2 separate regions of the Homo sapiens genome follow, and region 1 is linked to region 2. The links are contacts of gene promoters, found by promoter capture Hi-C in blood cells and fetal thymus (Javierre and others, 2016). All regions are on one chromosome and are shown on one strand. Each heading gives the region's core, a stretch centred on a gene start or on the middle of the fragment in contact. The rest is flanking DNA. Distances are from core to core; before and after follow the strand shown.

Evidence for each region. The method cuts DNA at HindIII sites, captures the fragments that hold promoters and counts their contacts. A CHiCAGO score of 5 or more calls a contact.
Region 1: a fragment that was not itself captured here is called in contact with the fragment with the promoter of BPIFC in region 2 in 3 of 17 cell types (M1 macrophages, M2 macrophages and total CD8 T cells); the score reaches 6.5 in M1 macrophages.

What each region holds. Positions count from the first base shown.
Region 1 is chr22:32,389,040-32,395,783 of GRCh38, reverse strand. It overlaps RTCB (RNA 2',3'-cyclic phosphate and 5'-OH ligase), which reads left to right. Exons shown (of 12, transcript NM_014306.5): 9 at 570-758; 10 at 1,782-1,892; 11 at 3,425-3,544. Among named protein-coding and RNA genes, the nearest start is that of RTCB, 20 kb to the left of the region's middle. RefSeq lists a silencer at 924-1,121. The HindIII fragment of the contact is 4,798 bases long and covers 1-3,804 here.
Region 2 is chr22:32,461,797-32,469,175 of GRCh38, reverse strand. It overlaps BPIFC (BPI fold containing family C), which reads left to right and starts at 4,730. Exons shown (of 17, transcript NM_174932.3): 1 at 4,730-4,802. The HindIII fragment of the contact is 5,490 bases long and covers 1-5,005 here.

The DNA.
Region 1 (6,744 bases), core at 156-2,655, 70 kb after region 2:
AGTGGAGCTTGCAGTGAGCCGAGATCGTGCCACTGCACTCCAGCCTGGGTGACAGAGTGAGACTCCTGTCTCCAAAAGAAAAAAACATCGTGCAGTCCAGTCAAAGCCTATGGTGTTTGGTTTTGGAAATTCACATAGTTAACTTTCAAAATACCAGAGAAGTGTCCAAGGTTTTGGTGTTGTCTTAAACTAAATCATCAGAGTATCAGGCATGAGAAATGAGAGCAGAGAATCAAAATTATTCCTAGAATTTGTCTTGAACAGCATAGAGAATAAAAGTGCCACTGACTAAGATTCAGAAGGCTGAGAAGAAGCAATTTTGAAAGGTGGGATCAAAAGTTGCCCAGCAGCTTTTCAACTAAAGATGAAAATGATGTGGTGGCATTTCCTGTGTGGTCTAAAGGACAGCTTTTGTCCTTTACGTGAAGATAATCTTACGGCTACTTTTGAACTTTTAAATCTTTTACTCCCTTCAGAACAGACTACCTGAAACCAGTGAGATGAGTCACGAAGAGCTGAACATAAGTCCTGAAGTTCTGGCTGCTTTTATCTTCTGTGTTTTCTCCTAGGCTTTCGCCAAGGTCTTCAACACAACCCCTGATGACTTGGACCTACATGTGATCTATGATGTTTCTCACAACATTGCCAAAGTGGAGCAGCATGTGGTGGACGGAAAGGAACGGACACTGTTAGTACACAGGAAGGGATCCACCCGCGCTTTCCCTCCTCACCATCCCCTCATTGCTGTTGATTACCAAGTACGTAGCTCTACGTTTGTAGTTTTAAGCAGTGGGGGCACGATTTAGATTGTTGCAAATGTGAATTACATTTAAAACGAAAAGCAGCAATTGTGAAAAGAAAATACTCTGTCACTCATGAGAACAGTGATTCCCAATCTTCTCTGAAGCAGTAACTCCTTCCCCCATCATTTGTGCTTGCGGTGGTGCCGTGTGCTATAGCAAGTGCTGCAGGAAGTGTATTTTACTCCACTACCGTGAATTGAGGCCTTTGAATTAGTGGAAGACAGGAGTAACTCAGTTACAGAAGACAGAGTAAACTCAGTCTGTTTCATTCCTCCTGTCCTCTTGGTGTCTGGCTGTGGTGGAGTTCGAAAGACCCCATAGTCTGCTTGCTCCTTTTACAGATGAGAAACCCAAAACAGAGAAGACAAGCACCTTGCTCAGGATGGTGGTTCTAGCAACACTTCTCTACACTTTTGGATTTTGCTTTGCTCTTATTTTGACTCTTCTGCATTTTTACTGGTCCTCAGATTTTCACTCTCGTCCTCTTCCTTCCCCTCCGATTTATCAAAGAATCAAAGTACTATCTTAATATAGTTTACTAGCCGCGCGTTTAGAAGTCTGGGTTTCTCCGGCCGGGTGTGGTGGCTTACGCCTGTAATCCCAGCACTTTCGGAGGCCAAGGCGGGCAAATCACGAGTTCGGGAGATCGAGACCATCCTGGCTAACATGGTGAAACTCCGCCTCTACTAAAAATACAAAAAATTAGCTGGGCATGGCAGCAGGCGCCTGTGGTCCCAGCAACTCGGGAGGCTGAGGCAAGAGAATGGCGTGAACCCAGGAGGCGGAGCTTGCAGTGAGCCGAGATCCCGCCACTGCACTCCAGCCTGGGCGACAGAGCAAGACTCCCATCTCAAAAAAAAAAAAAAGAAGTCTGGGTTTCTCCTACAATCCTACAGTGCAAGAGAAAATTTAAATTTTATGCATAAAAAGCCTATGTTTTTCTGAATTTTAACATGTTTGATTTATGTGCATCCTCAGCTCACTGGACAGCCAGTGCTCATTGGTGGCACCATGGGAACCTGTAGTTATGTTCTTACTGGCACTGAACAGGGCATGACTGAGACCTTTGGAACAACCTGTCATGGAGCGGTAAGGAAAACAGAAACTTCCTTAGAAATGCTCTCTTCAGTTTAGCTATGGTTTTCCATTTTGACTGGTAAATGTAGCTGATTGAACATTAACAGAGTTGAGACTTGGGCCTATCATGTCTTGTACTTCAAATTGTTCCCCATAATGTATACTATTTAGTGAACTGACTGGGGTCACCTAGTATCTCTGCCTCAGTGAGATCTGGTAGGGTTAGGGACCGTTTCTTATCTCTGCAAGTCCAGAAAATCCAGACTGGGAAATTGTCACACTAGCTGAGCTTACTGTCTGGTTTATAAGTGATAGAACTTTAACTGATGCAAATATCACAGTTGATCTCAGCGACTGACTGGACCTGCTCCTTTGTTTAATTTGCCCCTTCCTATTGTGTAGGTCCACGCAAGATTGGAAGGATAGGCCCTATTTGCAAATTAGAGCCCATGTACAGTCTACACACACACCCATTTCAAAACACTGCCTCTCATCTTCTAAGCCCAGGGGTCAGGAAACTCTTCCCATAAAGGGCCAGACCGTAAATATTTTAGGCTTTTGGGACCAGATGGTCTGTGTACCAGCTATTCAGCTATGCCATTTCAGTGCAGAAGCAACCTTAAGTACTGTGTAAATGGGCAATGCTGTGTTCTAATAGAACTATTTTAGGCCAGGCATGGTTGCTCACACTTGTAATTACAGCACTTTGGGAGGCCAGGGCAGGAGGAGCACTTGAAGCCGGGAATTCAAGACTAGACTGGGCAACATTAGCAAGACACCGTCTCCACAAAAACTTTTTAAATTAGCCGGGTGTGGTGGCACACCTGTAGTCATAGCTACTCAGGAGGCTAAGGCAGGAGGATTGCTTGAGCCCAGGAGATTAAGGCTGCAGTGAGCTATGATTATGTCACTTCACTCCAGTCTGGGTGACAGAGGGAGACCCTTTCTCAAAAAACAAAATAGTTTATTTTAAAAAGCAGGTGGTGGGCCATATTTGGCCCATACACCGTAGTTTGCCGGCCCCTTTTCTAAGCCATCCAGAGTGTTGAGCCAGTGTTGAAATGGGAAAGAGAAACTGTCTAGAGTACCTTCTCCTAGGACAGACCTTCACAAATGTATTTAATCCTACTTTTTTTTCTGATTGTTTCTCATTTCTAGCTGCCTCCCAACTCCTAATTTTAACCCAGTAGTTTTCAACAAAGGAGATCCCCCTACCGCCATGGGGACATTGACAATTTCTGGAGGCTTTTTTTATTGTCATGGTTTAGTGGGAGTTGCTATTGGCATTTAGTGGGTCTTAGAGGCGAGGGATGCTGCTGAATACACTGCGCTGCGCTGCTGAATACCCTGCATAGGACAGCCTCCCAACAAAGAATTCTCCGGTCCAAAATCTAAAAGGATATGATGAGGTTTAAAAGGCCTGTTACCAATTCGATAAAGTAAAAAAGATGTTTTTTTAAGCTCCTTTTTAGTGTGAGAGAAAATCAGGGAAAGGGCTTATCATCTTAGGGTTTAAAGTAAAGTTCATTCCTTTCCCATTCTAGGGCCGTGCATTGTCCCGAGCAAAATCTCGACGTAATTTAGATTTCCAGGATGTCTTAGACAAATTGGCAGATATGGGAATTGCGATCCGTGTTGCCTCACCCAAACTGGTTATGGAAGAGGTAAGTGAAATTTTGATAAATACATGAATATTTATTGTTCCCCATTTGTAATTTGTTCCAGTCTACAGAGACAGCAATTTAGGGTGTTACTAACAGAAATTGTTTGGGTTATTTTTTTTTATGACCTCAATTTTGGCTTATCTTCCTTGGATTAGCTTATTTCAGTTTTATGTTTTCATTTCTTTTGGTTAAAATTACGAGCCAAGTCCTTAAGAATGATTTTTACTGTTCATTTATAGTCTCCATCTACATATTAAGCTTTTCAAGAGTAGTTTGAGCTGACTCTTGTTTTTGCACAATTGTATACTTAGGTTTCAATTTGAAAGCAAATTTGAAAAAGGAAGGCATAAATGTTTGGAGAAAGTTTTATTTGATTCACAGGAGAACAGATTTTGTTTAAATTCTGTATATATGTTTACATATATGTACATATTTAAATTAAAAGCAATATAATTCCTTAATGATTTAAGAGAAAAGAAAAACAGTCATCCAAAAACTCAATGCCCTGACACAGTTATTACCTTATCTTTTAGAATACTTATTATTGTCGGCCGGGCGTGGTGGCTCACGCCTGTAATCACAGCATTTTGGGAGGCCGAGGTGGGCAGATCACATGAGGTCAGGAGTTTGAGACCAGCCTGATCAACATGGTGAAACCCCTACTAAAAATACAAAAATTAGCTGGGCATGGTGGTGGACACCCATAATCGCAGCTACTCAGGAGGCCGAGACAGGAAAATCACTTGAATCCGGGAGGCAGAGGTTGCAGTGAGCCAAGATCATGCCACTGCACTCCAGCCTAGATGACAAAGTAAGACTCCGTCTCAAAAAAAAAAAAAAAAAATTTACTTATTGTCATAGTTTTTTCCTAAATGCTTTTTTTAAAGCTAGTCTTAATTATAGTTAAGAAACATTCTGTAGTTATTTTTAAAATTTTGCACATTATTATAAAATTGTTTGTGTCACTTTTTAAAATCATTGCTGAATATTCCACCAGCTGAGTACCTTACTTTCTGCCTGTAGTGGACATTTAAGTAGCTTCCAAATTTTTGCTACTATAAATTAAATTGTAATGAGTGTCTTCATGCATGAAGGTTTTTTCCAGTTGTTATAGTAATTAGAACAAAGTCTCAAAAGTGGAGTTACATGGTGGCTCATGCCTATAATCCCAGTACTTTGGGAGGCCAATGCAGGAAGATCTCTTGAGGCCAGGAGTTCAAGATTAGTTTGGCCAAAGATTAGCCAGGTGTAGTCCTAGCAACTCAGGAGACTGAAGCTGGAGGATTGCTTGAGCCCAGGACCTTGAGGTTACAGTAAGCTATGTGATTGTCCAGACTTGGTGCAAAGCAAGACCCTATCTCTAAAAAAAAATAAGGAAAAAAAGTGGAATTACTGAGTCAGAGTATGACAAAGACTTATTTTTTTTAATAACAATTCATTTTTCCCCTGATCTTAAGAATACATGGTTAATTTAAAAGATTTGGAATATACTGGCCAGGTGCAGTGGCTCAGGCCTGTAATCCCAGCATTTTGGGAGGCTGAGGCGGGTGGATCACAAGGTGAGGAGATCAAGACCATCCTGGCTAACACGGTGAAACCCCATCTCTACTAAAAATACAAAAAATTAGCCGGGCGTGGTGGCGGGCGCCTGTAGCTCTAGCTACTCGGGAGGCTGAGGCAGGAGAACGGCGTGAACGCGGGAGGCGGAGCTTGCAGTGAGCCGAGATCGCGCTACTGCACTCCAGCCTGGGCGACAGAGCAACACTCCATCTCAAAAAAAAAAAAAGGATTTGGAAAATACAAAGGAGAAAACAGAAAACATTTAGAATTCAATCAGCCAGAAATAATTACAGTTAAAATTTGGATTTTTGGTTTTTTGGTTTTGTTTTGTTTTTTCACCTGCAACACGTGATTATTTGATTCACTTACTCAGCTAACACGTACTAACCATCCGCTATAGTTAGGTACTGTTCTATATGCTAGAGATACTGCAGTGAACAAAAGAAACACGAGTCCCTTCGTTGTGGAGCTTTCCAAATAATAAAACATACAGTGTGTTAATGACCATGCAAGTTCTATGAAATAAAAAGCAGGGAAAGGTGGTAAGGAAAGGTGGGAAGGGGTACAGTTTTAAGCAGGTGGTCGGAGAAGACTTCAGTGAGGTGACAGTAGAGCAAAGACCTGAAGAGAGAGAGGAAACAGGCTACCTGGGCATCTGGAGGTGAGCTTTCGAGGCAGAGAGAACAGCAAGCGCAAAATCTGTGAGCTGAGGTTATGAAGGAGTGTTCAAGAAACAGCAAGGAGGCCAGGCATGACAAGAGCAAGCCAGAGGGAGATGAGGTCAGAGAGGTAGGGGGCGCCAGAGCATTTGGACTTTTGCTTTTACTCTGATTAAAATGAAAAAACCTTGGAGGATTTTGAGCAGAATAGTGACGTGATCTGACAAATGTGTTTGCATGTTGATGAGAAGAATCTACAAGAGAAATTAATGATGCAGAAAAGAGGGAGGAAATTGCTGGAGAAGTGTCCTTGAATAGATGAGAGGAGATAGAGTCTGATGTACAAGTGGATGGGGTTGGTCTTTGCTAGGAGCACAGATAATTCATCCTTTATAAAAGGAGAGAAGAAGCTGAGCACAGTGGCTCACACCTGTAATCCCAGCACTTTCGGGAGGCTGAGGTGAGAGTATCGCTTAAAGCCAGGAGTTTGAGACCAGCCTGAGCTACAAAGCAAGACCCCATCTCTACAAAAATAAAAAAAATTAGGCACAGTGGCACATGCCTGTAGTCTCAGTGAGCTATGATTGTGCCACTGGACTCAACCTTGGGTGACAGAGTAAAAAAATAAAAGGAGAGAAGGTATAGATACAGATATGTGGGGAAGATAAAGTTAGCATGTTTATGAATATTCTGGCTGCTTCTATTTTTTTCAGTGTATTACATAGTAAGGTCAGCAAGTGAGAGTGGGATCTGAGAAAAGGTATGAAATATTCATCTAGGGGAGAGACAGTCATTGGCCCAGTGGAATTTCATCTGATTGCCAGGAGCTAGAAATCGCCAAGTAGTACTGGGGAGTGATTCAGGCTCCCACAGATAACTACAGCCAAAGGTAGTTTGTGGTACGATGTAATGACTGCAAGATTCAAAACTAGGAGTGCCTAGGGAGAACGGGAGAATAGAAACAACCATGAAAGCCAGGAG
Region 2 (7,379 bases), core at 3,481-5,980:
AGCCTCCCCAGCAGCTGGGACTACAGGCACACGCCGCCATGCCCGGCTAATTTTATGTATTTTTTTTTTTTTTTTAGTAGAGACAGGGTTTCACCGTGTTTGCCAGGATGGTCTCCATCTCCTGACCTCGTGAGCTGCCCTCCTCAGCCTCCCAAAGTGCTAGAATTACAGGTGTGAGCCACCGCGCCCGGCCTAGTTAGCTCTTTCTATATGGTTATAGCCCAGACATTCTAGAAACCAAGAACAGGGATGCTCAGTTCCCTAACACTATCTCTTGACATCTCGTTTTAATGAACAAGTATTTCTAGCCAGTTATTTATGATTTTTCTTTTGGAGTCTTAATTAAGAGTGTTCCCTGATCTGCAAAGACAAACACACTGTCAGCTATTTGACAGTGTAATAATTAATCTTGCATTTTAGATTGCCGTCATGAGTAGGCTGAAGAAGCAGGCATTCCCAGCAAATCTTCTGTTAAATATGGAAAGCTAAAATAAACAGTGAAACTGGATAGGGTGCTGCTGGCTTTTGTTGTTGATGTTTTTAAAGATGAATTTGGCAAATGTGCCCTAAACAGCTAATTAGGAAGGCTAATTAGCTGATTTCTAAGGCCTCTTCCAAATAAAAGACAACAGACTAGCTACACTCTCTTCTTAGATCTTTGTTTCCTAGACTCTAATTATTTGAGCCCCTTTTTCAGAAATTATTCTATGTCCTAAGGCTGGGTACGGTGGCTCATGCCTGTAATACCAGCACTTTGGGAGGCCGAGTCGGGTGGATCACAAGGTCAGGAATTCGAGAACAGCCTGGCAAACATGGCAAAACCCCATCTGTACCAAAAATTCAAAAATTAGCCAGGCGTGGTGGTGGCGCCTGTAATCTCAGCTACTCAGGAGGCTGAGGCAGGAGAATTGCTTAACCCAGGAGCGGGAGGTTGCAGTGAGCCGAGTTGGTGCCACTGCCCTCCAGCCTGGGCAACAGAGTGAGACTAAATCTCAAAAAAAAAAAAAAAAGTATTCTATGTCCCATGTGAGCTGTACTGTTATTTACTTTTTTTTCCCATAAATCAACCCACTTCTTAAAATGTATATAATCTTATTTAAAAGGGAAAAGTTATATAAAGGGGAAACTTTTTAAATTTCCTAATAGAGGGTAACTGTAAAAAGTAAATACCATGAAAACTGAACTTTGTATACTTCTTAAAAACAAACCTTGTTTAAGATATCTTTGTAATTATTAACTTTAAATAAAAATAGATGAAATGCATCTAATTTATTGACACTGTGTGAAAAACATAGGTGCTGCCTCGTCTAATTTCATTCTCAAAATGACTCTTCAAAGTAAATGTGAGCTCCACTTTTAGAGGTGATGGCTCTGAGACCTGGAAGTGAAGTAAATTGTTCAAGGACCCAGCGTTGGAATGGGTAGCGCAGGTCCAGGTCCAGGGGAGGCGAGAGCCCTCATGACTGCAAGGCGAATCTCTACACCTTGCACTGTCTCTCCTCACCATTCTCATTCAAGCCAACCTCCCTCTTCTATCTTGTGGCAGACTCCTGGAATATACAGCAATGATTCTGGGGTTTTCACCAAAGATGTGGTTAGACTTTCAGGTCTTTTGTAACAGGAAGAAAAAGTATTTGCATCAGGAAAGATGGAAAGATACTGTTATTTTATGGTTGTTTGTTTGTTTGTTTGTTTGTTTGTTTTGAGAGGGAGTCTCGCTCTGTTGCCCAGGCTGAAGTGCAGTGGCGAGATCTTGGCTCACTGCAAGCTCTGCCTCCCAGGTTCACCCCATTCTCCTGCCTCAGCCTCCTGAGTAGCTGGGACTACAGGCGCCCACCACCAAGCCCGGCTAATTTTTTGTGTTTTTAGTAGAGACGGGGTTTCACTGTGTTAGCCAGGATGGTCTTGATCTCTTGACCTCGTGATCTGCCCGCCTCGGCCTCCCAAAGTGCTGGGATTACAGGCGTGAGCCACCACGCCCAGCCGATTGTTGGTTTCTTTCTAACAGAGAAAAGGAATTGAGAATGAGCAGGGGATGGGCTGGGCAGGGGCCAGACAGTGAAGGTGGGAGCAGGGGAAGAAGATGGAGCCAAGAAGCTGCTCTGGAGAGGAGAGAAACGAAAGAGGAGACCTCGGACCCTGGAGAAGGACAGGGAGAGAGGGGGCGGGGGAGGAAATTGATGTTGCCACCCGGGGAAAATAGTGAGGAAAAGGTAGAAAGATGTAGAGGTGTTTTGTGATTTTTTTTTTCCATATAGTGCTTTTGATGTTGTCCTTCATCTTCCATGTTGTCCTTCGTCTTCCATGTCTAGCTCTGTATTTTTTCTAATGCACAGTACAATTTCAAGAGCTTCTCTGCATAGCGCCTGAACTCATCTTCCACACTTTCAGTAGCACATGCACGTGGGAAGCTGCCTGCAATGATCTCATTCATTTCTGTGGCTTTAACTCCACCTTTCGGATGATGACTTAGACATTCATATTTCCAGTTGACCTCTTCCCTGAACTCTACCCACCTGACATCACCATTTACATCTCGAATACCATAACTTCTGCCCCAACTCCATTTCAGACAAACTGGCTCACCTTTGCAGTTCCCTCCACCTTTTCCTTTCAGCACTTTGCCTGCCTGGCTTCCAACGGTCACATCTCAGCGCAAATAATCACCTCCTCAGAGACGCCCACGTGGGTATCCTGATAAAATAAGCCCACCTCCCCCAGTTGCATTGCTCTACCTATTACAAGACCACCTTACCAACAACATTCCCTTAGTTCCGTCACAGTACATGTCACAATTTATACATTTTTGTTTATTTTATTGTTTGCTTATTTATTTTGTCTCCATCGACTAGAACATAAACTCCTCGTGGACAAAAATTTCATCTTTTTTGCTGAAGAGGACTTTGCACATTGTAGGTGCTCAGTAAATCTGTTGATTGAATGAATGAATTCATCTATGATGACCGACAATAAATGATCCCATGAAGAGCGTCTCTGCACCGTATCATTATTGATACGGCCACGTGCTAATGAGTAGAATTTCACAGCAGTTTACAGTTTTAATAGCGCATTCTCATGTGTTATTATGTTTTTCTTCACCAGAACCAATCAAGGAAGTTACTATTTCTATCCCCACTTTACCTTAAGGAAACTCAGTTCAAATCAGTAAGTATAACCCAAGGTATAACTCCCCTGAGAAGCTGTGAGAAGTATGGACAATGCCAAGTGAAAGCGTCTGTGGTTCCTTTCAGACTGACTTATCATCCTGATTTTCCCAGGACTGTTCTGGTTTTAGTACTGAAAATCCTGCATTCTTGGGAAACCAGGACAGTTGGTCACCGGGTCTTACCCAGAAAAGTGTAGATAAGCCATAAGAACTTCATGCAATCAGGCTGGGTGCGGTGGATCATGCCTGTAATCCCAGGACTTTGGGAGGCCAAGGCAGGTGGATCACTTGAGGTCAAGAGTTCAAGACCAGCCTGGCCAACATGGTGAAACCCCATCACTACTAAAAATACAAAAATTAGCCAAGTTTGGTGGTGCACACCTGTAATTCCAGCTACTCAGAGGGCTAAGGCACAAGAATCGCTTAAACCCTGGAGGCAGAGGTTGTAGTGAGCCAAGATCATGCCACTGCACTCCAGCCTGGGTGACAGTGAGACTGTCTCAAAAAAAAAAAAACCAAAAAACAAAAAAAAAAACTTCATACAATCAAATCCCTGGCCATCTAAAATACATTAATGGCCGGGTATGATGGCTCACATCTGTAATCCCAGCACTTATGAAGCCAACACGGGTGGATCAATCACATGAGGTCAGGAGTTCGAGACCAGCCTGGCCAATGCAGCGAAACCCTGTCTGTACTAAAAATACAAAAAATTAGCTGGGCGTGGTAGCGCACTCCTGTAATCCCAGCTACTAGGGAGGCTGAGGCAGGAGAATTGTTTGAACCCAGGGGGCGGAGGTTGCAGTGAGCCAAGATCGCTCCACTGCACTCCAGCCTGGGTGACAGAGTGAGACTCCATCTCAAAAAATAAATAAATAAAAATAAAAATAGATAAAACACATTAACTAAAATGAATTTATTGGAGATGAGAGTAGGGCTGGAGTTTGGAATCTGAAAATGTTAAGTTGCATAATAGTTGATGAACCCACCCACCCAACTTAGGTTTAAGGAATGCTGGAACAGTAAGTCATTAATAACATTCTGAAAAGGAGCGGACGGACACTGAGAGATGCCAACTGAGGTCCTACCCTGAGTGATAAGGTAACTAGGTCAGCCCGATTGTCAAGCCTCATGCTTTCAGACTGAATCTGATGATCCACCACAAGTCCCAAAGGTATTCTGGGCAGTAGTAGAGCCATCCACCGCAGGCACCCTGACCAGAAGGAACCAGCTTATGATTCCAGACAGGAAAATTCTTCCTCTTCCAATGCAGTTTAACACCGTTTTCAATCATTTTGGTAAAGTAGCCATCACAATTTCACAAGTGGTGTGTGTGTGTGTGTGTGTGTGTGTGTGTGTGTGTTTTGCAGGAAGATAATTATTGCATAGGTGGCACTGTCTGTTTATCTAGGTAGATACTGTAGTGCTCATTCATGCCATTGGGTAATTGTAGTGAAGCAATTATGTATCACATTTTGAAAGAGGCATTAAAAAAATTCACCACTGAGATGAGTCAGACTTAATTATCTTGGCTTTTTAGCAGCTGAGTTTAAGGCGCAAGGTGGAGAACACATCAGCTTCAAAGGCAGAGAGAATCGAAGGTGCTCTCCAGCTTTGGACACTTCCTCTGCTTGAGGTAAGACTCATGAACAAACTTCAGGTCTCTGCCAGCCATGATCTCCAAACTGGAGATGTCCCAGATTTGGTAGGACACTTTGAACAGGCAGCTGTCATATATCCTGGGTTATTATTATTGTCTGCCTAGATTTTTCTGTATCTTTGTTTGTTTGTTTGTGTGATGTCACATATGCGCACCTGGAGGCTTCTTAGGCAAAAGCTTTAGTGACAGCTAAACAGCCATAAGAGAGAAAAGAGTTGGTTTAAACCACCTACTTAGTTTTGCATCATGGAACAATGTTAAGAGGGTTGCTCAGTGATCTGGACTTATTTTTGCCTCCATTTCAGAGGGGAACCCAGCACAGTGGCAGAAAATTCTATCTTGTCTCTCAAAATCAGCATGGTTAGGACTAAGGAGTTGTTATAATCTCTGTGCTTTCAAGGCAGGTCTTAAAGCACATCAGTGACCTAGATCCTGCCAGAGCAAAACTAGCCACCCACTTGCCTGGACTGTTGAACTTGTTGGTGTTAGGCATAGAGTTTTGGGGAAAAGACATGCTATGAATTCTCAAGGTCCTTGTCATTAGAGATGTTGCTATAAAACTAGATGTGAGGAGTGGATCCCTTGAAATATTCTGCCCACGTTCCATACCTGTCGATTTAGACTTCTTATGTACGGTCATTTTGTCTTAACCAATATGTCGGAATACCCTTCTAGTTTAGACTTCTTTAAACCTGTTGAACTTAATTTTTCAACCTGCGCCTCTGTTTTGAAGGCTACATTTTACTCATTCATTACTCCCTTAATCGGTTTTTCCAGAGTCAGTCAAAGCTCTTGCCAAGCAGCAGTAGTAGTAGGACCATCTGTGAGTTTCAGGTGTTTTCTAAATTGGACTGGCATTTTCTTAGCTGTCAGGATGACTCACACAAGGACCATTTAATTTAGGAGTATTATTCTGTCTGTGTATTTGTATGGAAAAATAATGACTACTGAGATTTTGAATCTTGGAAAGAAGCAATTCCCCAGAAGCAACAAAATAGATAACTTGCTGGTGGGGTTTTTAAGTGATCTTGGATCCTTTTAACAGGCAACTAGCCCTGCCTGCACTTGTCAGCCAAATTACTTAACCTTTTAGTAGTCATCACCTTGCTTGACAAGGTTCCTTTCCTCCCCTGCCCATAAGTTATCATCGTAACTGAACAATTCAATGAAAAGTTATGTACAATTCACCCCTTCATACCCCAGTAATTTCTTTCACTCATAAAATTTCTAGAGGAAAAATATGTTTTCCTGCCTGTAATTTTGGATTCCTGGATCTCCATCAAAGTGTACCACTTCAGAAACTTTTTTTAACCAAGAAGGGAAAACAGGTTTTACTGCTGGCAGGGAATTTAAAACTCCAGTTGTGTCCAAGAAAATAAGAAGGGATTTGCACTGTGATGCTTGAACGTTTCTAGATGCTTATTGAATTTTTCCACCTTGAAAATGGTGTTTGGTTTTCTGTGCACATGTACCCTAGAACTTAAAGTGTAATAAAAAAAATTGAGTAACTTTTAAACAACAACAACAAAAAGGAAAATGGTGTCAAGCAACTCCTATTTAAAATTCCCAGATGAAAATGAAAACCCTAGCATGTATCGAGTCATTCAATAAAAATAAATTCATCAACACTAGAATTAGGAACCAGAAGAACAAGGTTGGGTTCCCAGGTGCCTTACTTACTGTGGGATCTTGGACGAGTCATCAGATTCTCTAAGCCTCCATGTCCACGTGTCTAAAATGGGAGTAAGATAATAAGAACATCCACTTCAAAGAACTGTGAGTTTTGTAAAGGGTAAAGAAATAAAAATTTATTATTTTAGTTGTTATTCCATTCACAAGTAATATTTCTTCTCTGGTTTATTATGTTTTTTTCACTATAGAAATGGAGAGCTCTATATTATATATGATAGTTTGGTTTTTCCTTTTTTTCTAACCATTTGTAGAACCTTTCTTAGTTGACTGGAATCTTTTAAGTCAGTCAGTTGATCAGTTAGCACATATTAATTTGGGTCTTACCATGTGCCAGGGAGAGATATCATGTCTGCCTTAATTTGCACACAGTCTAATAGGTACAGACATTTTGGTCTTAACATTCTTTCCCATTGCATTCCATTGCTATGAAAATATTTTTCTTTTTTTTTTCTTTTTTTTCTTTTTTCTTTTTTTTTTTTTTTTTTTTTTGAGATGGAGTCTCGCTCTGTCGCCAGACTGGAGTGCAGTGGCACAATCTTGGCTCACTGCAACCTCTGCCTCCTGGGTTCAAGTGATTCTCCTGCCTCAGCCTCCCACATAGCTGGGACTACAGGTGTGCGCCACCACACCTGGTTAATTTTTGTATTTTTAGTAGAGACAGTTTCACCATGTTAGCCAGGATGGCCTTGATCTCTTGACCTCATGATCCGCCCACCTTGGCCTTCCAAGGTGCCAGGATTATAGGCGTGAGCCACCACGCCCGGCCTATTTTTGCTCTTTTAAAACAAAAATCTCTCTAATGCCTGTCTTGGCATAACACATCCATTTACAATTTTTAGCCGGCAGTGATATTAGCAAGAC